2 separate regions of the Homo sapiens genome follow, and region 2 is linked to region 1. Evidence: promoter capture Hi-C in 16 types of primary human blood cells and fetal thymus (Javierre and others, 2016). All regions are on one chromosome and are shown on one strand. The core of a region is centred on a gene start or on the middle of the fragment in contact, and the rest is flanking DNA. Distances in the headings are between cores, read along the strand shown.

The links. The method cuts DNA at HindIII sites, captures the fragments that hold promoters and counts their contacts. A CHiCAGO score of 5 or more calls a contact.
Region 2: the fragment with the promoter of CD84-AS1 here is called in contact with the fragment with the promoter of PIGM in region 1 in 9 of 17 cell types (M2 macrophages, monocytes, erythroblasts and 6 more); the score reaches 9.0 in M2 macrophages.

Annotation. Positions count from the first base shown.
Region 1 is chr1:160,029,135-160,036,221 of GRCh38, reverse strand. It overlaps PIGM (phosphatidylinositol glycan anchor biosynthesis class M), which reads left to right and starts at 4,232. Exons shown (of 1, transcript NM_145167.3): 1 at 4,232-7,087. The coding sequence starts at 4,483. The coding sequence ends at 5,754. The HindIII fragment of the contact is 5,226 bases long and covers 934-6,159 here.
Region 2 is chr1:160,533,665-160,540,751 of GRCh38, reverse strand. It overlaps CD84-AS1 (CD84 antisense RNA 1), which reads right to left and starts at 3,656. Exons shown (of 2, transcript NR_188634.1): 1 at 3,565-3,656. RefSeq lists enhancers at 259-553, 569-658. The HindIII fragment of the contact is 1,945 bases long and covers 2,595-4,539 here.

The DNA of each region.
Region 1 (7,087 bases), core at 2,983-5,482:
TGGCTAACTTTTGTAATTTTAGTAGAGACAGGGTTTCACCATATTGGTAAGGCTGGTCTCGAACCCCTGACCTCAGGTGATTCACCCATCTCAGCCTCCCAAAGTGCTGGGATTACAGGCGTGAGCCACTGTGCCTGGCCAACCTTCTTAACTCTTACACTATGCCCATCTGAGATCAAATAAATCCCCTTAAAAGCTAGAGCACTTACCACAGCTGCATTTGTATATTATTTGTCAATTTATTTGACTAATGTCTGTGTAGCTTACTAGACTTCAAGTGTCACATGAATGGGATTCATGTCAAGTGTTTGGTCACGAGTACAGCCCAGCACCTCATATAGTGCCCGACATGTATGATGTTTGATAAATTAGCAGGAGGGAAAGAAAGCAAAGAGAGAAAGAAATGGCCTAAAGTATGCAGTGGAGCTTGTATATCTTGTTAAATAACTATAAAAGAGTTAGATAACGAGCATGACATAATTACTATTAAAAAAGAGAACAGACAATAAACATCACTGTTTTGAGGAGGGAGAGACTATTTCACTTGTTAAGGTCTAGGAAGAGGAGTTGAGAGTTGGGTTCAACATTGAAAAACCAAATAGCATTTAAGTAAGTAAAGAGAAACAGGTCTCTTTGTAGGAAGTACAGCATGAAGAAAGTGTCATGAGAAGAAAGCACAAGGCATATTTTGGGAACAGTAAACCTAAAACAGAGGCATTATAGGTGAATAGGATGGAAAGCTAAGGTAAAGCCAGAAAATAGGGGGACTGAATATCAGGCTAAAGTGTTCATTATTTTTTTCTTTAGGCAGTCAGGAACCACTGAAGATGTTTGATGGAGGAAAGAATCTAAGTAAAGTACTATTAATTAATATCAATCTGGTAGTAGAATTGAGACATAAGACATTAAATCAGTTAAGAGATTTTTAAAGCTTGAGGGAAAGGCAATTGTCACAGATCCTGGTATAGTATAGTATAGGTGTTCGCTACGTATTATTTGAGTTGTTGAAGGTCTGAACTAAGGTGCAGGATGCTGGGCATGGAAAGAATTAGAAATAGATTCCAAAGAAATGACAAAGCAAGACATATGAACAAAATCTAGTGAAAAAGAAAGTGATTAAAGTAGTCAAGGTTCTAGCAGGAAACAGATGGTATACTCAAAGGGCCAGTGGACATGTTTTAATGAAGAAACTATTTGCAAAGGTATGGGCAAGTTTAATAAATCAACAAGATATGGTGATGTACCCAGGCACTCGCAAAGTAGGACGCCTTTACCAGCCTTAAACCTGAAGGGACAGTTACTGGAACCATGAGACTTGTACCCAAAGGAGAGAGCTATAGCTTCAACAGGAGCCATGGCTTTAGGTGAGGAATTCCAGACACTGCCAAAGATCTGCTAGTGCCTCCCACTGGTCTATTCTAATGGGAAGCCAGAGAACAAGGGAGATTGAGTGATGCTACCCATACAGCCTAACCTCTTGGAACACAGAACAGGGCAAAAAAGATGAATAGTGGATATGGAAGGGTAATGAGAGTATATGCAGCATAGTGAACAAGGACAAGGTTCCTGCTAGGGAAACTAAAGTTGAGCGATCCATGTTTGTGCTTTCCTTAGTCATTGGCTCTAAAAGGATAGAAATCTAGGAGCAGATAGTGAAAGGGGGAATTAAGAAGGATTGTAAGTAACAGTCCGAGAGGTAATGAACAGTTGAGCATTTGAAAAAAATGTAACTCTTTCAGAAAGAGGTGAGAAAATACAATCCCTAAACCCAATGCAAAAAGTTCAATATGGGGTCCTCGGACCCTGTGATGTATCTCTTCCACCCAGAAATAGTAACTAAAGTTGGACCTCTCTGTCCAATTTGTTTTACAGATTCCAGTCTCTTCTTCGTTCCCACAACTGCTATCTACATCTCACTCCTTTGACTTCAGTGACATGCTTAGTTTTTTTTTTATTTTATTTTTTTATTAGTTGTTTCCTTATCTGCCTAAATTTGGTGCCTCCCATCTCTCTACTAGGACAGCCATGTAGGGACAGATTGACTGAAACCTTTCTGCTATACTACTGAAACCAATCCAGCCACAAGGACCCTTACTTAGTTAATCCTCAGACACCTACCTCCCATATTTTCTATCTTAGGGAACTAAGCCTCACTTATCTATTATTTGCAGAAGAAAAGAATAAATCAGAGGTAGAAAGAGTCACAGTGAGAGAGAATATCCAGAATATCAAGATGAGAGATCAATAAGAGAAAACATAGGAAAATTAGAATTTGTGATCAACATTTTATTGGCAAGTCAGCCACATAATGATTAAGATATTCTAGGTCAGACAGACTGGGTTTTGAGTTCTAGCACTGTCACTAGTTAGCTATGTGACTTGGGAAAATTACTTAATCTCCATAAGCCTTGGTTTTCTTCATTTGTAAAGGTGGGAATATCTACCTTACATGAAAAGTACTTAGCATAATGCCTGGTACATTGCAAATGAGTCCTCAACAAATCCAGCTATTATAAATAATAGTAATCATCATCATCATAATCATCATTATATGAGTGGTGATGTGCTGCCACTATATATATGGCTAATATACTGCAAAAAAATGGTTAGAATTATCAATCTAAGGCATGTAATGATACCAAGGCATATAAAAGGACATAGAGCTATCACAATATGAATATGGAATATATAAGATTAACACAGTTCATCTCCAAGGGATAAATTGAAGTGTAGGATGGATGAGCAGCAGGTAGTTCTGGGAGCTGCATGTTCAGACTGCATGAAGTCACCTCCTTTTCCTTATTCTAGTCTAGAAGACTTCCCCTAGGAAGCAGGCTTATTCTATAAAATCCAATTAGTCAGTATTTACTAAGCATTTACCATGTGCCTAAGACTACAATAAATTACACATAATTGAAAAAAATTAAGGATAAGATATAATTTCTACCCCCAAGAACCCTATAATCTCTTGTGAGGGCTATGAATACAATCTAAAATAAAGTATCAAATTCTACAATGCGGACTATGTAAGTGCACTAAGTAACCACGGAAAGGGAAGAGCTAATGGGTTACAGTCCTTGGCAAGAAATTCATGGAAGTAGGGTTGGAGTGGGGTGGGGGGAGCAGGGGACCTTGACATACATAAAGGATATTTAAAAGGGAAAATAACTGGGAGTTGGGAGCAATCCAAAGATGCCACTCTAGAAATATTCTGGTAGGAGGAACCTCTAAAATCAATTCAACTTTACTGAATGGCTACTAGTACTGTGTTAGATGTTGAGGTAGAGAAAAGAACAAGATAATCTCTGATACCGAAGAATTGAAAGTGTCCTGATGGAAAACTAGGAGAGCAAAACAAACAAAAACAGTTATTACAAAGCAGTGTGACAAATGCTGTAACAAAGGAATGACCAGGGAGTTCTGGAGCACTGGGAGAACTTTTAGTAGCATGGCAGGGTCTTCTGTGTGAGTGATTTTCTGGAACTTAGATCCCGTCCGCCCCAGTCTACCTATCCTCGGACAGGGGAGGGGACTGGCATCTAAGTCATTCATTCTGCGTGATGAGGAAGTGAGTGGGAGCTGGGAGCTAACACTTGCACTGATGCCTGAAGGGTTGAGTAGGTATTTGCCAGAGTGATTGGAGAGCGGATGGCAACTTTGACAGAAGAAATAGCAAATACAGAGATACTGAGGCATAAGGGGCTGACAAGTTAAGGAATTTTGTGACGCTTTCCTGTCTTCTTTCCCATCACCTTCACCTAGGGTTGCCGGATAAAATACAAGCTGCCCACTTAAATCTGAATCTCTGATTACCAACTAGTAATTTAAAAATATAAGTATGCCTCCAATATTGCATGGAACATACACACTCAGCCCCCTTCAACTCATCCTGTCCTGTCCGGGGCCCACAAATCCCCGGTGAATACCGGCGAGCTAGTGGAGTAAAGCATGAGAAGGCTTATCTTCCTTTCACTCCTACATTTTTCACTCTCGGATCTCCAGCCCAGGACTGAAGGATGTAGCGCGCAGCCCGCAGCTCGCTGCTCGTCGGAGGGTTTTCCTCTGAGGACTGGAAATGGGGCGCGGGAAGAGGGCGGGGGGCGGCGGGCTGTCACTTACAAAGAAATCTCACTCCACTCCATAAAATCCTCAAGCCAGTGCCGGATTTCCCGGCAAGCGGACGTCTCCCCTCCCACGGACCGGAAATCCCGCCTCCGCTGGAAGAAGAAGCGGAAGCGAGACCGTCCATCCAGAGGAAGGCAAGTTTTTGGCTCGGGCGGCTGAGAAGACCGCGCGGGGCTGGAGACAGGTAGCAGTACGGGGGCGGGGCTTCATGCCGGATGTGATAGTCTGCAGTCGTTTCGGTTGGCAGCCTGGCGGGTGGGAGATGCGGCGGCCACCTGCTGCAAAGAACCGAAGGGAAGGTTAGAAGTACGAAGGCAGTTTGGAGCTGGGGCTAAGCAGCTGTCGCACGGTCAGATCATGGGCTCCACCAAGCACTGGGGCGAATGGCTCCTGAACTTGAAGGTGGCTCCAGCCGGCGTCTTTGGTGTGGCCTTTCTAGCCAGAGTCGCCCTGGTTTTCTATGGCGTCTTCCAGGACCGGACCCTGCACGTGAGGTATACGGACATCGACTACCAGGTCTTCACCGACGCCGCGCGCTTCGTCACGGAGGGGCGCTCGCCTTACCTGAGAGCCACGTACCGTTACACCCCGCTGCTGGGTTGGCTCCTCACTCCCAACATCTACCTCAGCGAGCTCTTTGGAAAGTTTCTCTTCATCAGCTGCGACCTCCTCACCGCTTTCCTCTTATACCGCCTGCTGCTGCTGAAGGGGCTGGGGCGCCGCCAGGCTTGTGGCTACTGTGTCTTTTGGCTTCTTAACCCCCTGCCTATGGCAGTATCCAGCCGCGGTAATGCGGACTCTATTGTCGCCTCCCTGGTCCTGATGGTCCTCTACTTGATAAAGAAAAGACTCGTCGCGTGTGCAGCTGTATTCTATGGTTTCGCGGTGCATATGAAGATATATCCAGTGACTTACATCCTTCCCATAACCCTCCACCTGCTTCCAGATCGCGACAATGACAAAAGCCTCCGTCAATTCCGGTACACTTTCCAGGCTTGTTTGTACGAGCTCCTGAAAAGGCTGTGTAATCGGGCTGTGCTGCTGTTTGTAGCAGTTGCTGGACTCACGTTTTTTGCCCTGAGCTTTGGTTTTTACTATGAGTACGGCTGGGAATTTTTGGAACACACCTACTTTTATCACCTGACTAGGCGGGATATCCGTCACAACTTTTCTCCGTACTTCTACATGCTGTATTTGACTGCAGAGAGCAAGTGGAGTTTTTCCCTGGGAATTGCTGCATTCCTGCCACAGCTCATCTTGCTTTCAGCTGTGTCTTTCGCCTATTACAGAGACCTCGTTTTTTGTTGTTTTCTTCATACGTCCATTTTTGTGACTTTTAACAAAGTCTGCACCTCCCAGTACTTTCTTTGGTACCTCTGCTTACTGCCTCTTGTGATGCCACTAGTCAGAATGCCTTGGAAAAGAGCTGTAGTTCTCCTAATGTTATGGTTTATAGGGCAGGCCATGTGGCTGGCTCCTGCCTATGTTCTAGAGTTTCAAGGAAAGAACACCTTTCTGTTTATTTGGTTAGCTGGTTTGTTCTTTCTTCTTATCAATTGTTCCATCCTGATTCAAATTATTTCCCATTACAAAGAAGAACCCCTGACAGAGAGAATCAAATATGACTAGTGTATGTTCCACACCCTCTGCTACTGTGTTACATTCTGATTGTCTTGTATGGACCAGAAGAGAGCTTTGGGACATTTTTTCTGAACATTCTAAGCATTCTAGTGAAAGTTCCCATGTTCCAACAGAACTTAAAAGCAATGTTTGCCTTATATATAAAAGGGACACAATAATTGAGGTCCACCTTCTAGGAAATCCTAGGACTCGTTTATTTGGGACATGGTGGGAATAAAGGTCACATATTGGAAAATGGAAAGGCTGATGAAACTATCAGATACTAAAACATTCTTAAAATAGAGGAATATAGTTAGAGACATCAGGTTTAAGCCAGTATTTGTTCCTGTTTTACAATGCTTCTGTCTTAAGCTGTGTCTTAACTTTTAACACCCATCTTTTCTTTCTAAAGCTTTCCTGACAGCTGTGAAAATCCAAAAAATATTCTTAAACTGTGTATGGTGGCCCTTGCCTGTAGTCTCAGCACTTTGGGAGGCTGAGGTGGGAGGGTCGCTTGAGTTCAGGAGTTCTAGACCCACCTGGGGCAAGATGGTGAGACCTAGTCTCAAAAAAAAAAAAAAAAATTAGCCAGGTGTTGTGGTGCACCCCTGTAGTCATAGCTGCATGGGAGGCTGAGGTGGGAGAATTGCTTGAGCCCAGAGCAAGACCCTGTCTCAAAAAAAAAAAAAAAAAAAAAAAGGAAAGGACAACTTTTTAGATAGAAAAGTATTAAATAATACTAAGATGCTTAGTAGTATTATTTTAGAGAGTTTTAAACTTCTATATTAAATGTGGGGTCTTACAAGATAATCCAAAGACTTTGGGAGGCCAAGGCGGGCAGATCACGAGGTCAGGAGATTGAGACCATCCTGGCTAACACGGTGAAACCCCTCTCTACTAAAAATACAAAAAATTAGCCGGGCGTGGTGGGTGCCTGTAGTCCCAGCTACTCCTCGGGAGGCTGAGGCAGGAGAATGGCGTGAACTCCGGAGGTGGAGCCTGTAGTGAGCCGAGATGGCACCACTGCGCTCCAGCCTGGGCGACAGAGCAAGACTCCATATCAAAAAAAAAAAAAAAAAAAGATAATCCAAAGAATTTAAATTGTAATCATGTTTCATGTATTTGTTTTATTACTTACTTTTATAGCACTTAGTCCCAGTGGTATTAGACTGCTATTTGGTTTCATACAAAAAGGATTAAATTTAAATTCATTCATGTTTAGACTTGAGTTATTACATTTTTAAAACTATCATCTTGCCTTTAATGTTTGTGGTCCTACACAAACTATTAGTACATTTCAGTATCCTCTTACCCCTTTGTTTTTAAGTTTTTGATTGCTAAA
Region 2 (7,087 bases), core at 2,407-4,906, 510 kb before region 1:
TAAATCACGTTTTGGGGGTCATCTCCCTCCAGGGAAGAAGCTTTGTCTTATTCATTTTTCACTCACAGTGCCCTATCACAGGAGCCAATGCCTAGCAGAGCTTAGTAAGTATTTGTTGAACTGAATTTGGATTGGCACCCACATATCAGAAGAGGAAAGAGAGTCCTGGAAACCACATTCAGAGTCCGAGTCCCAAATTGGAGAGTAGAAATTCTCTGTGTCACCCATAGTGCCACTTGGAGGAAAGGGATAAAAAGACTGGGCTTTTAACTGAGGAGAATGAGGTTGTGGTTTCCACAGAACTGTAGGTGCAGGGCCTCTGAATGTTTGGTAAACACTGAAGGGGAGGTGACTTACTAACAGGCGCTGTGAGATAGCAAATGGTTTTTAGGCCTGAGACAAAACCACTTCCTCTATTCCCTGCTTATCAGAGGCCACAGCTGCTCTGTTCTGAGCCAGCGTTTGCAGATAAGCCTGGTCTTCCAGCTCCCCACCTACATCTTCTTGTGGGGTTGAAATTGACTGCTACCCATGTAGAATTTCGGAGTCCCTGTGTAGAAACTCTGTAGGCAGATACAGCAACCGTTTGAGAAGATAAATTTCGCTAGTGTTTCTCCAGTGCTTTCTGAGGTTTGGCACATTTCATTTCATTTCATCTACACATTAGCCATAGGACTTTCAGCTTGAAATTACCTCCACCTCCTTACCCTCACTACCTCCAATACACAGCTTCACTCATTCACACAATGCCCATTCATTCTTCTGGGATAAGCTCAAGCGTCCCTTCCTGGGGGGAAGTTTTCCCTGTTCCTCCAGGCCATATCTGATGCCCGTGTTTTGCGCTCATAGTACAACACCTCTTGCCTTTACAGCAGTTTTCAATTTTGTCTTTAAATATTTCTCCCTGTGATTATTTTATTAATTCCTCTCTTCCGTCACTGGACTGTGAGTTCCATCAGGACACAGATCATGCGTGGTTTTGTCACCATTTGTATCCACAGTGCCTGACCCAGTGCAAGTAGTCCTCAATTTGTAATACTTTAATTATTGAAGACGCAATAGCTTATCAGCCTTTAACTGTGTTAGCTGGCATGTTACAATCCTTTGGCATATGTATCAACGACAAAGCCAGGTATACTGTTTATTTCTGAAGTATATTACCTTCATAGATTCTATAAAACCCTTGGTTGGAAATGCACTAGAAAATATTGATTTTACCTGCTATGCAGGAGACACAGAAGAGTTAACACAGCAGGGCTAAAACTGCTGTCCTTTGAAGGGCATGCTTATAAGGTTGGCCCTTGGCTGGTGTCTGAGAACTTGGACTTTGGGACGGTTCCTACCATTCCCTGATAAGAATTCCCTGATAAGGTACTTACACTGTACCTAAATTGTTGGCACAACAATTTGTTTTTTGCTGAATATCTGCTTTCTTTCTTGGATTCTGGAATTTTGGTGCATGCTAGGTAGAGGGTGCCTACGTTACTGCCTGCAGAGAAAAACCCTAAATGCCTAGGCTCCATCGAGCTTCTTTGGTAGATTACATTTCAAACATGACACAACATGTTGTTGAAGGAATTACATACATCCTGTTTGACTCCACTATGAGAGGACTCTAGAAGCTTGCACCTGGTTTCCTCTGGACTTTGCCCTTTTGCCTTTGCTGATTTTCTTTGTGTTTATTCACTGTAATAAATCGGCCATGACTATGGCTATATGCTGAGTCTTGTGAGTCCTCCTACTGAATGACTGAATCTGGGGGTGGTCTTGAAAACCCCAACACAACTCCTGAATGTCACTACAATCTATCTACCTCTCTTTCACCACTAACTACAGTAGTCCAGGTTGCCATCATCTCTTACCCAGACAATAGCACTTGACCTCTTGCAGTCGTGCCTGCTCCCAGTCCAATCCATTCTCTACACCACAACCAGAGTGATCTTTCCAAAACACAAATAATGGTTATATTGGCCATGCTAATGTCATCTGGTGGCAGAAAGGACCAATGGATTGCTGTGGTATAAGGCTTTGTATATGTAATAACTTATAAGTTGAAAATTTATAATTAAGCCCTGGCACAGTGGCTCACGCCTGTATTGGGAGGCTGAGGTGGGTGGATTACTTGAGGCCAGGAGTTCAAGACCAGCCTGGTCAACATGGTGAAACCCCGTCTCTACTAAAAGTACAAAAACAAAAAAAAAAAAAAGCCGGGTGTGGTGGCACACACCTGTAGTCCCAGCTACTTGGAAGGCTGAGGCACGAGAATTGCTTGAACCCGGGAGGCAGAGGTTGCAGTGAGCTGAGATGGTGCCACTGCACTCCAGCCTGGGCAACAGAGCAAGACTCTTTCTCAAAAGAAAGAAAAGAAAGAAAAAAAAAAGAAAAGGAAAGGAAAGAAAGAAAGAGAGAGAGAAAGTTAGTTTATAATTAGAAGAAATTCTTTAACCTGAAAAAAAATGGAAAGATATTCAGTGGTCTAATTGCCAAAAGTGTACCAGCCTAGATGGTCTTAAGGGCTAGTCCTATCACCTACAATGAAAGGATAATTCCCAGTCATCTTAACTGTCCCAAGGCATAGAAAACAGTGGGAAGCTTCCAAATTCATTAAATACTATAATATAACACTGATTCCAAAGCCAGATAAGGATGATCCCCCACAAAGAGATACATAGGCCAGGAGTTAGCAAACTATGGCGTGTGGCCACATCCAGTCTGCCATCTGTTTTTATTTGACCCACGAACTAAGAATAGTTTACATTTTTAAAATGGTTGAAAAGAATTCAAAGAATAATAATATTTTGGGACATGTTAAAATTATGTGAAATTCAAATTTCAGCATCCATAAATAAAGTTTTATTGAAACACAGCCAACACGCATTCTTTTATGTGTTTATTATGGCTGCTTCCATACTACACCAGCAGAGTTGAGTAGTTGCAAAGGAGATTGTATGGTCCACAAAGTCCAATATTCACTACTGGGACCTTTACAGAAAAAGTCTGCCACATCCTGATATAGTCCAATCTCACTTATAAATATAAATGTTAAAAATCTTAAACTTCAGTCAATTTTAAAGCAATGCATTAAAAGAAAAAAAAATGCGACCAAGTAGGATTTTATCCTTAGAGTGCCAGGATGATTTATCTTTAAGAAACCATCTATTGTAATTTGCTGTTCAAACAGATTAAAGGAGATGAAAAAAATAATCATCCTGACATAGTCTACAATATATATTTGATAAAACTGAATACCCATGACTGATTTAAAAAGTTTTCAAGAAAGCTAAAAATAGAATGTGTTTTAGTCAATATCCAATTTTAAAAAACTGAGACCATGTTAAATACTGAAAACTCAACAAGCTGAATATAGGGAATTGATTCCAAAAGTGATGGAGGAGTAAAACAGGGAAGCTGAGGTTACCAAGCAATTAATAATTCCAGGAAGTTGCTATGGAACTTTGTCCCTATGGAAATTTGTCTTGGGAATCAGTGCTGCCAGCTTTCAAGATTCTAAGAGTTCACAGTCTCATCAAAACTGTGAGACTCTGGGAGACAAAAATAACTCACCACTGCAGATGCCACCATCAAAGCCTGATCCCACCAGTACCACACTAGCAAGACTTCTGACATGCTTGCTGGAACTGCACTGCTACACCAGGAACCCTGAAGCGGTACTCATCTTCTGCTATCACTGCCACTACTGAAAACATTACCAGAAACCAAGATTATGGAAAAATATATAATTTATTCCTTCCATCCAACTTTAACCAATACCACCCAGTGACAAAATCTAATCAGAAGCCATCTGACAATGGAAATGATAAATGTAGTTTGCAGACTTCTAACCTTCTGAAAAACAAGGAACACAGAAGGGTGGGAATAGAGCTGAGAGCAAATAAGCAAATGACTGGCTCGGGTTAAACTTTTACAACTTGATACAGCATATGTAGCAAACATTTATTGGAAACATTAGAGGCATTCTTAATAAAGAAATGAATACAAGTAACCATTCTTGTATTCAGTGAATACAAGATCACTGCTACTCTTCAACTGTATTGTATTGAAGATCCTTGTTAGTAAAGTGAGTCAAGAAATACATATAAGAGGCTATCTCACATCTAGAATCAGTCATTTTTCTAAGGGGCATTGGTTCTTCAGAGAGAATATTATTTATCCACCAAGATCTTGGATAATGTCACTAATTTTTAGTTACTTAAGAAATATGTGAACACATTTCTATCATCTTTTTAAAAATCAGTGTAAAAGTATAGAGATAGAGAGAGTGATGTCAGCAAAGTGGTGGACTAGGAAATTCCAAACTCTCTCTTTCCCCCAACTTAGAGTAATAAAAAAACAGCCAAACAAACAAAAAAAAACCCAAATGGTTGAATTAACCTTATAGGGACTCTGGAAAACAGTCAGAGTTTTATAACAACCAATCAAATGCCCAATGAAGAAAAAGCCACTTTTGAAATGGTAGGAAAAGTTCCATGGCATTTTTCTTGCCCTTGCCCCATCCCCTCCTCATCCCAACAGAAAGCTTGTTTAGAGGAGGCAGGAGTTCACTTCTCAGTTCCCTCTCTTGAATGGGAGGGAACATAACAGATCTTATTTGCAATATTCTAATCTGTCTTAGGAGTCCATGAAGAACTGGTCTCTATTTCACTTAATTCAGATCTCAAGTGGGAAAGTGCCACTACTATGAACCCAAAGCTATCAAAATAAAGAAAATAATAAAGATTAGACCAGAGATAAAATAGAGAAAATTAATGAACCAAAAAGTTGATTACTTAAAAGGATCAACGAAATTGGCAAATTTAGTTAGAGTGGTTATGGAAAAAAAGACAGAGTGCTCAAATTACTAAAATTGGAAATGAAAATGAGGACACTACAACCAATTTTTCAGAAATGAATAGAAGAGACTACTACAAACAAATTGGATAACATAGATGAAGTAGACACAATTTTTACAAAGACTGAATCATGAAGAAATAGAAAATCTGATTAGACCTATAACTACTAAGAATATTAAGTAAATAATTTTAAAACAACTTCCCAACAAGGAGAAGTCCTGGATCAGAAGGCTTCACTGGTCACCAAAGAGTTTTAAAAGATTTTACACTAATCCTTCTTAAACTCTTCTAAACATTGAAGATAAATATATTAATTCACTCTGTCTTCCATGACAAAATACCACAGACTTGGTAGCTTAAACAATTGAAATTTATTTCTCACAGTTCTGAAGGCTTCGATGTCCAAGATCAAGGTGCCAGCTGATTCAATTGCTGGTGAAACTCTCCCTGGCTTGTAGGTGGCCAACTTCTCAATACGCCCTCATGTGGTAGAGAGAGAGCAAGAACTTTAGTCTCTCCTTTCTTATCAGTATGCTTATCTCATCATGAGGGTCCCACTCACATGACCTCATCCAAACCTAATTATCTCTCAAAGTCCCCATCTCCAAATATCATCACATTGGGGGTTAGAGCTTCAATATATACATTTTGTAGAGGCATAAACACTCAGTCCTTAACAAGAAGAGACCACTTCCTAATTCACTCTGTGACACCAGCACTACCCTGATACGAAAGCCAAACAAAGACACTAAAAGTAAACAAAACTACAAACCAATATTCCTTATAAATATTTATATAAAAATTCTTACAAAATAAGTAGCAAACAAAATTCAGCAGCATATTAAAAGGATTATACAACATGACAGTGAAATGTATTCCTGGAATGCAAGGATAGTTCAACATACAAAAATCATTCAATGTAATATATTGCATTAACAGAATGAAAGAAAAAAACTGGTCATTTTAATTGACACAGAAAAGGCATTTGACAAAGTTCAATATTCTTTCATGATAAAAACTATCCAACAAGCTAGAAATACAAGGGAACTTTTTACACAATAAAGCCCATATATTAAAAATCCACAGTTAACATCACATACAATGGTGAAAGACTGTAAGTTTTTCTCCTAAAATTAGGAACAAGACAAGATGCTCACTTTTACCAGTTGTGTTCAGTGTAGCATTAGAAGATCTAGCTAGAAAAATTAGACAAGAACAAGAAATAAAAGACATCTTAATTAGAAAGGAAGAAGCAAAATGATTTCTGTTCATGGATAATATAATCTCATATATATAAAATCCTAAAGATAATATAATCTCATGTGTATAAAATCCACACAAGCACACACACAAAAACTCTTAGGGCTAATTAAAAATTCAGCAAAGTTACAGGATACAAAATCAACTGTAAAAATCAGTTCCATTTCTATAAACTCACAATAAACAATCCAAAAAATAAGAAAAACAATTTAATTTACAATAACTTCAAAAAGAATAAAATACTTAGGAATAAACTTAACCAAGTAGGGGAATACTTGTACACTGAAAGCTCTAAGGCATTGCTGAAAGAAATTATAGAAGACATACATAAACGGAAAGACATCCTGTGTTCATGGATTTAATATTATTAAGATGGCAATACAATCTACAGATTCAATGCAATCCCTATCACATCCCAAAGATTTTTTTGCACAAATAGGAAAACTCATACTAAAATTCATATTGAATCTAAACGGACACCAAGTAGCCAAAATAGTCTCAAAAAAGAAGAAAGTTAGAGGCCTCATACTTCCTGATTTCAAAACTTACTACAAAGGTACAGTAATCAAATACAGACCAATGAAATAGAGTCAAGAGCCCAGAAGTAAACCCTTTAATATGTAGTCAAACGATCTTTGGCAAGGGCTCTAAAAGCACTCAATGAGGGAAAGGCCAGTCATTTCAACAATTCGTTCTGGGACAACTGGACATCTACGTGCAAAAGAATGAAGTTGGACCCCTACCACATACTATATATAAAAATTAACTGAAAACATAACAAAGACTTATCTGTAAGAGCCAAAACTATAAAAATCTTAGAAGAAAACATATAGAAAATCTTAATGACATTGCATTTGGCAACGATTTCTTAAATATGACAATAAAGGCACAGGCACCAAAAGAAATCTAGATATTTCTTTCTATATCTGTAATATATATAGCTCACACCTGTAATGCCAGCACTTTGGGAGGCCAAG